Linked DNA regions of Homo sapiens: all the other regions are linked to region 2. The links are contacts of gene promoters, found by promoter capture Hi-C in human tissues and cell types (Jung and others, 2019). All regions are on one chromosome and are shown on one strand. Each heading gives the region's core, a stretch centred on a gene start or on the middle of the fragment in contact. The rest is flanking DNA. Distances are from core to core; before and after follow the strand shown.

Evidence for each region. Contacts are between HindIII fragments. The study calls those that stand out against the background at their distance.
Region 1: a contact is called between a fragment that was not itself captured here and the fragment with the promoter of CAMK2G in region 2, in 1 of the 25 tissues and cell types used here (lymphoblastoid cells).
Region 3: a contact is called between a fragment that was not itself captured here and the fragment with the promoter of CAMK2G in region 2, in 1 of the 25 tissues and cell types used here (lymphoblastoid cells).

What each region holds. Positions count from the first base shown.
Region 1 is chr10:75,032,055-75,035,267 of GRCh38, forward strand. It overlaps KAT6B (lysine acetyltransferase 6B), which reads left to right. Exons shown (of 18, transcript NM_012330.4): 18 at 1-570. Among named protein-coding and RNA genes, the nearest start is that of SNORD172, 12 kb to the left of the region's middle. RefSeq lists an enhancer at 1,191-1,240. The HindIII fragment of the contact is 6,681 bases long and covers 1-3,213 here.
Region 2 is chr10:73,873,024-73,876,262 of GRCh38, forward strand. It overlaps CAMK2G (calcium/calmodulin dependent protein kinase II gamma), which reads right to left and starts at 1,532. Exons shown (of 23, transcript NM_001367534.1): 1 at 1,374-1,532; 2 at 1-60. The coding sequence starts at 1,438. RefSeq lists silencers at 925-984, 1,245-1,414, 1,475-1,634, 1,645-1,924 and an enhancer at 2,145-2,254. The HindIII fragment of the contact is 10,637 bases long and covers 1-3,239 here.
Region 3 is chr10:75,087,827-75,090,916 of GRCh38, forward strand. It overlaps the pseudogene PPIAP13. Among named protein-coding and RNA genes, the nearest start is that of DUSP13B, 10 kb to the right of the region's middle. The HindIII fragment of the contact is 6,630 bases long and covers 1-3,090 here.

The DNA of each region.
Region 1 (3,213 bases), core at 639-3,138, 1.2 Mb after region 2:
AAAAAGCAAAAAAGTTATTTGTGTCTGTTTATATTGCTTCCTTTTTTGTAGCCTTTGTACCTGTACAGGGTGACAGTAAGGGCCAAGCAGGAGAGGCGTAATCCTTGTATAAAATAGGATCCAGCGACACTCTTGTATTTATCTGTTCTCTTTTTAGTCAGTCACTTCAAAAAAACAAAAAACAAACAAAAAAAAGCTGTACATTTTAACATAAAATAAATTATGATGAGCCATTTTTAGCCTCTTGTGTCCTGTCATATTATGATTGATAGAGAATGACCAATGGAACTGTATCATGTGTCACGCCTCAGAACACATACACATTTTGGGAAAATAAATTATTTAGTGTAAATTGGAGTTATGGGATTTTCTGATTTGTTTTGACTTTGGGGGAGGGGTTGGCAATAAATAAGAGTAATATCTAATAAAACCATCACATATACCAAATACCTATTTAATAAATTAATTTATAATGGATTTTAATGCTTTTCATGAAAGTTTATTTTATGCGAGTGCATACCTTCTGTATGCCAATCATTGTCTTTAAAATAAAGTGAAATTGTTTTTTTCTTTTGGACTTTGATCTTCATTTGCAAAGAGATCCCGCACAAATATCCAGCTGCCTCACTCGCACAGTCTGTAGAAACATCCCTCCAAGCCTCGCACCAGGGTAGCAAACTTCCTTTTTATAAAGATTCATACCAAAAAAAGCACCCAATTTGGGATTGTATGTTTGAAAAATCATTTTCTTTTTAAAAAGTGTGAACGTTTTGCTCTGTTGTGAATGATTAATTGTATGTTTTCTTTAGAGTCTAAAGTTTAGACCCCCTGCCAAAAGTGAATATTCACAAGTATAGCGTTCAGAGAAAGTTCTGAGTGTTGCTTGAATTTGGTTATTTGAGCAACAAGTCTAGAAATGAATGCTTGACCTAGCACCCGTGTGAAACTAGCCCGTTAAGCTCTCCAGGTGTCTGAACACGTGTGCTCGCAACTCCTCTGTTAAGCAGGTCACTACCCTGTGGAGGAAAAAAGTTGCTTTTGCACTGTTGATTCAACACACACACACAAAAATTAGATGTTTTACAAAGCATAGACATAAGCCTTAAAGTGGACCCAAAATCGTGCAAGGGCAGGATAGAGCGTACACACCAGAATAAAAGGCCTTGTGCAGACAGAGGGTGCCCAGTGGAGTTCTGCCTTGTACTCTCACCCTTATCGTTATTTTCTTTCACAGTTACAAAGTGTATTGGGTTTAGTGTCACAATTTTATCTTTTAGTCCCTTCCTTCCTCAACTGCAAAGTCAATGGGGGTAATATATGTAACAGCTGAGGGAGGGCTTTCAAGAAGACACGTCTGAAGGGCCGTCAGCACAAAGGGAAAAGATCCATTTAAGCTGCTGTGCTAATAGGAAAAGAAACCTATCAGCCATCCTCAGAGTAGGAAGTGGTGGTCTATGCCTGCACAAATCGAACACTGCGTCCATTCAGGAGTGGCCAAGGACTGGGCAGCCCAGTGGGCCACACATCGGGCAAGAGGCTGCCCGAGCCCTGGAGGTGGGGTTGGGGCCTGGAAGCAATCTGATCGGGAAGCAGAGCCCCGAACGGGCTCCGACCTGTCACATATTTTGTCTCTTTCCTCTTGGGTTAAGATTCTCTGGGGGCTGAGATTCCCCTCTGTGTTCCCTTTGGCCATGACCTGCTAATCACACCTTGTGGTTTGTGCGATGTCTGAGTTCCCATACCCTGCCAGCCTAACAGCCCTCTAAAGGAGCTTGTGGAAGAGTCCCAATCATTGCCCCAGACCTGCCAAACCCTAATCTTAGAACAGTCCCAGGGACACCTCGGTTGCCCAGGCTCCTTAAGGACTGCAGCATAGCTAGGACTAGGAGCTTCCGTGCTGGCCCCAGTCCCAACATTCCTTGATGGAACAGAAAGGCTTAGCATAGGAAGGAAACTGCTGATCTGAGATGGCCTCAGAACACCCTGCCCTCCACCTCACCCACTCTCACTAGAGAAATCAGTTCACATCTGAATGTGACGCCAAGGATTTGGCGAAACAGGAACTTGGATTCATCAAAGCTGAATTCATTCGATTGAGATTCATTAACAGGCCACATCATTTAAACCCTAACTGTGTTCTATTATTTGTAAGAGTCGTACCAAGTGGTGGTCAGTTGCCAGCCTCACGTTTTAATAGTTGCAAGTGGTGCCTACGCCAGGTGGGAGGGCATCCACCTTCCTCACCAACATTCTATTTTAGAAGTAATGACTCACAATATCGTCACAAAGCTTTCACAAACTCCTCCCACACACCCACCCTGTGCAGGAAATGGGGCCATTCTTTCCAATGTACAGATCAGGATGTTGAGGCTCAGATTAAGCTACATTAATTACCCAAACTCACCCAGCTAAAATGTGTGAGCTGAAACAAACCCAGGTCTTTCCAAATCCCAGCTCTTTTTTTCTAGGACACTGTATTCTGAAAGGCCCTAATTTGTCACCTCTCTGATTTAAAGGCTTGGCTAATGAATACATGTTGCTGTAAAAACTGTTAAGTGCTATATAAATACAGATCCCTTTGTGGCTGCGAGCAAGCCTTGGTCTACAATCAATCTTCGATACTCAAAGTACACGTACTGTTACATTATGAAGCAGCACCTTCCATTTCTCTGTACCCAGGTTTCCATCGTTCCTTCTACCTTCTCCATCCCCTTTCCTGGACCTTCCTCCTCCACCCAGGCTTACCTATAAACATTGATGTTCTGCAACACTCAGGCCGGGAGTGTTCTCTCTGTTTTCTCTCATCATCTCATCTAGTATGATGACTTCAAATTCCACCTCTCTGCAGGTGACACCCGGAATTACATCCCCAGTTGTGAATATTCCTCTGAGCTTTAGATGCCACGTCAAATGACCTGGGACACCTTTTGTACATCTGCATGACAACCGAACTGGTGATTTCCGACCGCTCCTCCGTTCCTGCTCTGGTCCATCCCATCTCAGTGTTAAAGCACTGCCGAGAAACCTCGATCAGTTAGCCCTCATTTCCCTCCCCATCTCGGGAGGTCCCGTCCGTTTTCTGGGTTAATTCCAAAATAATCTTGAATACTAATCCCCTGGTGCTGTCAGTCCAGCCCATTTCCTTTCCTGTCAACAGCCTCCTAACTGCTCTTGCCTCGCTTCTTAACTCCCTACAACCTGTTCTCCATACTT
Region 2 (3,239 bases), core at 282-2,781:
GCTGCGTACTCCTGCGTGGAGGTTTTCTTCACACACCTGCGGACCACAGAGAAAGCACCCCTGGAGGGAGAAGGGGAAAAGAACTGGGACACGGAGCAGGGCAGAGTGACACAGACACACTTCAAGTCTGGGGACGATGATGCTCCCACCACCAGACCTCTAGTCACACTCACGTACATGCACACACACCGGCGCTGTGACCACCACCATCCAACATGAGGCAAAAGGACGCGGCCACCGCAGGACACTGAACAGATGTGGGTGGCGTGCCGCGCTCCCACCCCCTCATCCAGTCCCTGGGCAAGGCAACAGCCTCCACCTCAGGCTGCACATCAGGAGCGGGTGGGCGATGCTGAAAACACACACCTGCTGCATCTCAGACAGCCCTGCGGTCCCGGCCAAGAGAACCAGGGCAGAAGGGAGCAGAGAGACCCTGCCCTTCTCTCAGCAGGAACAGTTGAAGGTCGGGGAAGGAAAGATTAAAAAGAGGGTATCATCCCCTGAAAGAGAAATCTCCCTCAACCATGGGGCAAAGTGAGGCTCAAACCCCCCCACAGCCGGTTTCATCTCACTGCATCCCGGCTCAACTGACAGCAAGGGAAGAGAGGACACAGTCAGACATCAAGAACTCCCCTTCCCATGCTATTTTCCTTGACGTCCCCGTCAAACGGGAGCTCGCACTCTGAGCTCTGGAAACGTCTGGGGGGGCGGGCGGGGCGGGGGCTGCAGTGGCCGGGCTCGGCGCCGCGGGTGGGGGTGGGGGGCCGGGGCTGCTGCAGCGGCCAGCTCAGTGCGGAGGGGAGGGGGATGCTGAGGCTGCGGCGCGGCTCCCGGGACCACTGCAGGGGTGGGGGGAGGGGACGGGGGTGCCGCAGCACTGCCCAGCCGCGGGGCTGGGAGCCTGGAGCGGCACCCGCGGGGGGCGGGGCCGGGCGCCAAACAGCCCCCCCACGCCCGGGCTCCGCAGCAGAGCTAGGGCTGCAGGGCTGGGGAGGGTCCTGAGTGCGAGGCGCGTGGGACCTGGGTTCAGGGTGCGGAGTGAGCAACCGGGCAGCGTTGGGAGGTGGTCGGGAGGGGGGCGCCTGAAGGGTGCGGAGGGGCGGGGCTGGAGGGCACCCGGGAGCGGTCCGGGGTCTGCGGTGTCCGCGGCGGCGCGTGGGGAGCAGCGGCCCCGCCAGTTGCTGCAGGGCGCGGAGGGGGATGCGGGGCAGTGCGCGGGGGGCGCGGGGACCGAAGGCGGCGGGCGGGAAAGGCGGGGGTGGGGCGGCCGAGGGGGAGCCGCAGCGGCCGGTGCAGGGCCGGGGGGCGGGGCGAGAAGCCGCATAGCTCCCGGGCGGCAGGGCAGGCAGGGGACCGCGGCGGGCGGGCCGTACTTGCCAAGCTCCTCGAAGAGCTGGTAGTCGTCGGTGAAACGGGTGCAGGTGGCGGTGGTGGCCATGCTGGCGGGCGGGCGGACGCGGCGGTGCAGCCCGCGCCGACGTCGGTGCACAGTCACCGCCGCCCGGCCGAGGGAGCAAGAGGAGGAGACGGGGCTGAGCCCGGCAGCACCGCGAGACTTTACCGGGGAGAGCGAGGGAGGGAGGGACACCCCCGCGCCGCCCGCCCCGCCCCGCCCCCAGGCCCCGCCAGTCCCCCCCCCCGCCCGGCCCCCGGCCCGCCCCCGGGGAGGGGCCTCCCGCCGCCGGCCCCGCCCCGCCCCGGAGCCGCCCTCGCTGGGCCAGGCGCGCGGGGCAGCCGAGGGGAGGGGGTCCCCGCTCCGGGCCACCTGTCTGGGCAGACGGAGCTGGAAGGTTCGCGACTTATGGGCTTGTCCCGGGGCGGACCCCGCGCGGGCTCGGGAACGTGCATGCGAGGGTGCATGTGTTAGGAGTGTAGGAGTCTGGACCACTGACCTCTCTGGACGGGTCCTACACGCGGGTCCCGAGCCCCCAACCGGGCTCCTAGCACGTGGGGAGAGAGCCAAGGTCAAGGAGCCTGTGCCAGGCTGCACGCCCGGGAGGCGCCCCCAGCCTGCGCAGAGCCAGCTGCCAGCCGCCTTCCCTCTGGGAGCTGACAGTCTAGACTTGCGCAAGCACCAGGGCCATTATTAGAAAGAAACCCTTCAGGCGCGGGTTGATCAGGGAGACCAGGCCAGGGGCAAGGATACAGGTAGGACTCTGCCTTCCTGCACCATAACTGCAGAGATGAAAGAGTATTCTCTATCCGGCCAGAAATGAAAGGGGTGAAGTAGGAAGACTTGAAAAGGCTTTGTGCAGTGGGGGCTAGAAGAGAAAGTGGAAGAAAGGGGAAATCCCCATTTTCTTGCAAGGCACCCTCGTACTTTTATTTTCTGGCACCTACCACATTTTGTAGTGATGCATTGACTGGTATAAGGGGCAGTAGAGCTATCTCATAGCTGTCTAAGCGTGAACTTGCATCAAACTGCCTGGATTGGATTTCTAGGCAACTCACTGATCAGCTCTGTGACCTGGGGTAAGTCACTGAATCTTTTTTTTGAGACGGAGTCTTGCGCTGTTGCCCGGGCTGGAGTGCAGTGGTGCGATCTTGGCTCACTGCAGCCTCCACCTCCTGGGTTCAAGCGATTCTCCTGCCTCAGCCTCCCGAGTAGCTGGGATTATGGGCGCGCGCCACCACGCTCGGCTAATTTTTTTGTATTTTTAGTACAGACGGGGCTTCATTATGTTGTAGTAATGAAGTATGTATGTAGTACATACATGAAGTAATGAAGTATGTATGTAGTACAGAGGTGGCTTCATGAGCCACCTCGCCCGGCTGGGAACAATAATATTACCTACCTCATAGGCCTGTCAGCATTAAATGGTCTAAGGCACTTAGAATAGTACTTGGTGCCTAATTAGAACTACATTTGCTGGGCCGGGCGTGGTGGCTCATACCTGTAATCCCAGCACTTTGGGAGGCTGAGGCGGGTGGATCATGAGGTCAGGAGTTCGAGACCAGCCTGGCCAACATGGTGAAATCCTGTCTCTACTAAAAATACAAAAACTAGCTTCCCGCTGAATTGTAGGCTCCAATAAAGCGGGGCCTCTGCACCTTTTGTTCACCATTGTACACTCAGCCCCTGACCCTCAGTAAATATTTGTGGGATGGCAGAGGGAGATACCATCCCTTCTCCTGTCCCCACCATCACAAGTTGGTGGGACAGAGGCACATAACTGTCTTGATGGGGGACAAACAGGCTGGGCAGGTTCCTGACCTGCCTGGGCAGCTGTCCCCTGAGG
Region 3 (3,090 bases), core at 286-2,785, 1.2 Mb after region 2:
GAGTCCACACTGCAACTGCCCTCCCCACCCCAGGGCAGAAAGCAGAGGAGGCAGTCATCAAGGACTGGCTCTGAGCTAGAGGCCAGCAGAACCCCCAGGAGGCCTTGCCGAGGGCAGGAAGGAGGTCTCGGGCCTCTCAGCTGGAGTTTATTGTCCTGGGAGGAAGGTAGGATGGCGGGAGCTTAGGAAAGAGCTGGGGATGTGGATGAGGAGTGGGGAAAGGTTCTCTTTCTGGTAGCCTCTCCACCCTCCCCATCTCAAGGCCTTTGCCACCAATATCCCCCTTGGGCCCCTAACATCTTTCCTGGTCTCCAGTGGAGCTCTATTGCCGTCTTCATTCCCCTGTAGACACAGGGCCTCTCATCTCCATGCACTCAGCACCGGGGTGATGGATGTAGCCGCCCTGTCGCTTCCTCACTCACACACTCCTCTGGAGGCTAATGAAGTGGCTACAAGCCAGGGCTGCTGGTCAGACCTGGCTCTGCCCCTGTGCTGCTTACCCATTGATGTGTAACAAACTACCCCAAAACTTAGTGACTCCAAACAAGAGCATTTTCTGATATCTCATTTTAGGTCAGTAATTCAGGAGGGTTCAGTAAACAATTTTGCTGTTCCATGTGGCATTGACAGAGGTCACTCTGTGGTATTTCGCTGGCAGATATGCTGGTATGGAGTAAACAAGAAAGGGTCACACAAATGTCTAGTGTCTGGGCTCAGTGAGGCTGTCAACCAGTTGGCCTACCCATGACCAGTCCAGCATGGCAGAGTGGGGCACAGGCCGACTTCTACAGGGTGGCTCAGGATTCCCAGAGAGCACATTCCAAGAGACCCAGGTAGAAGATGCAAAGTGTCTTATGACAGCCTCGGAAGCCCCAGAATGCTGCTTCTGCTGCATTCTCCTGGCCAGCAAGTCACTAAGGCCAATCCAGAATGGAGGCTCACGAAGTGTTTAAGAACACAGGTTCACTGACTGAGTTGGTAGTATGATTCTACCCTGCTAGCTAAGCAACCTGAGAAACTTTACTTAAGCTCTTTAAGCCTCAGTTTTCTTATCTGTAAAATGGGAATAACAACATTATCTACCTCTTAGGGTTTATGAGAGTTTAATTGTATATACATATATATAATTTCTAAATTAATACAAATGTAAAAATTATACATATAAATTATACATGTGTGTATGTGTATGTATATATTTTGTTTGTTTGTTTGGCATTTAGTTTTTATTTCATAATCATAAACTTAACTCTGCAATCCAGCTGGGCATGGAAGGGAACAAGGAAAACATGGCACCCAAAGGGAACTGCAGTGAGAGCACAAAGATTCTAGGATACTGCGAGCAAATTGGGTGGAAGGATGCTCTCCTGAGTTACAGAAGGAATGGTCTGGAGGTTAAGATAAAACACAAGTCAAACTTATTAGAGTTGTCCACAGTCAGCAATGGTGATCTTCTTGCTGGTCTTGCCATTCCTGGACCCTCCATGGCCTCCACAATATTCATGCCTTCTTTCACCTTGCCAAAGGCCACATGCTTGCCATCCAACCACTTAGTCTTGGCAGTGCAGATGAAAAACTGGGAACCATTTGTGTTGGGTCCAGCATTTGCCATGGATAAGATGCCAGGACCTGTATGCTTTAGGATGAAGTTCTCATCATCAAATTTCTCCCAGTAGATGGACTTGCCACCAGTGCCATTATGGCATGTGAAGTCACCACCCTGACACATAAACCCTGGAATAATTCTGTGAAAGCAGGAACCCTTACAACCAAATCCTTTCTCTCCAGTGCTCAGAGCACGAAAGTTTTCTGCTGTCTTTGAAACTTTGTCTGCAAACAGCTCGAAGGAGACACAGTCTAAGGGCTCGCGGCGATGTCAAAGAACATGGTGGGGTTAACCATGGCTGATAGTACAGGGCTCCTGCCAGTGGCTGTGGCGTCTGCAAAGCCTGTTTTTGTTTTTTTTAATGCCCGCTGTAGAAAGCTCATGATCATCAATATCTGCAGTTTCCTCTTCTTCTTGGGCACCACCCTAGACTATTTCCTGGCTTCCCCTGCAGTTAGGTGTGGCCATGTGACTGGTTCTGGCCCATGGAACTTGAGGGGCAGTAGTAGACCTGGCCTCCATTCCTCCATGCTTACTCTCCTGGCCCTCCATCTACCTGTGTTTGAATAAAAAATAAAGCATGGCCTGGCCAGGTGTGGTGGCTCATGCCTGTCATCCCAGCACTTTGGGAGGCCAAGGCAGGAGGATCGCTTGAGTCCAGGAGTTTGGGAACAGAGTGGTAACATAGGGAGACCCCGTCTCTACAAAAAGTCAGCTGGGCGTGGTGGCATGTGCCTGTGGTCCCAACTACTTGGGAGGCTGAGGTGGGAGGACCCCTTGAGCCCAGAAAATCGAGGCTGCAGTGAGCTGTGATTGTACCACTGGACTCCAGCCTGGGCAACAGAGTGAGTCGCTATCTAAAAAATAAAAATATCAATCAATCAATAAAGTGTTGCTGAGTTTAGGTCACTCAGGTTTTGGGGCTGTCAGAGTCATTGGCCTAGCCTGACTGACTAAGGCACAGGTAGATAATAAAGTTCTCAATCAATACTAGCTGCTGTTCTGGCCTAATCTCCCTGGGCCTGTGTTCTCACCCATAAAATGGTGTTCACACGACCCACCCTACAGGATTGAGGAGTGAAAGAAATGATGGAGAGTATGACTTACTGGCTTAGCTTCTCTTCAACACGGTTACTTTATCTAAATACTACCAACTGAGTCATCATTACCTTTTTTCTTAAGCAAGATTATTTGTAATATAGCCTCTTTAAAGTTTTATTTTTATTTATTTAGTTTTTGGAGACAGAGTCTCGCTCTATCACCCAGGCTGGAGTACAGTGGTGCAATCTTGGCTCACTGCAGCCTCTTCCTCCCAGGTTCAAGCGATTCTTGTGTCTCAGCCTCCCAAGTAGCTGGAACTACAGATATGCACCACCACACCACGCTAATTCTTGTATTTTTAGTAGAGATAGGGTTTCACCGTGTTGGCCAGGCTGGTCTCCAACTCTTGACCTCAAGTGATCTGCCTGCCTCAGCCTCCCAAAGTG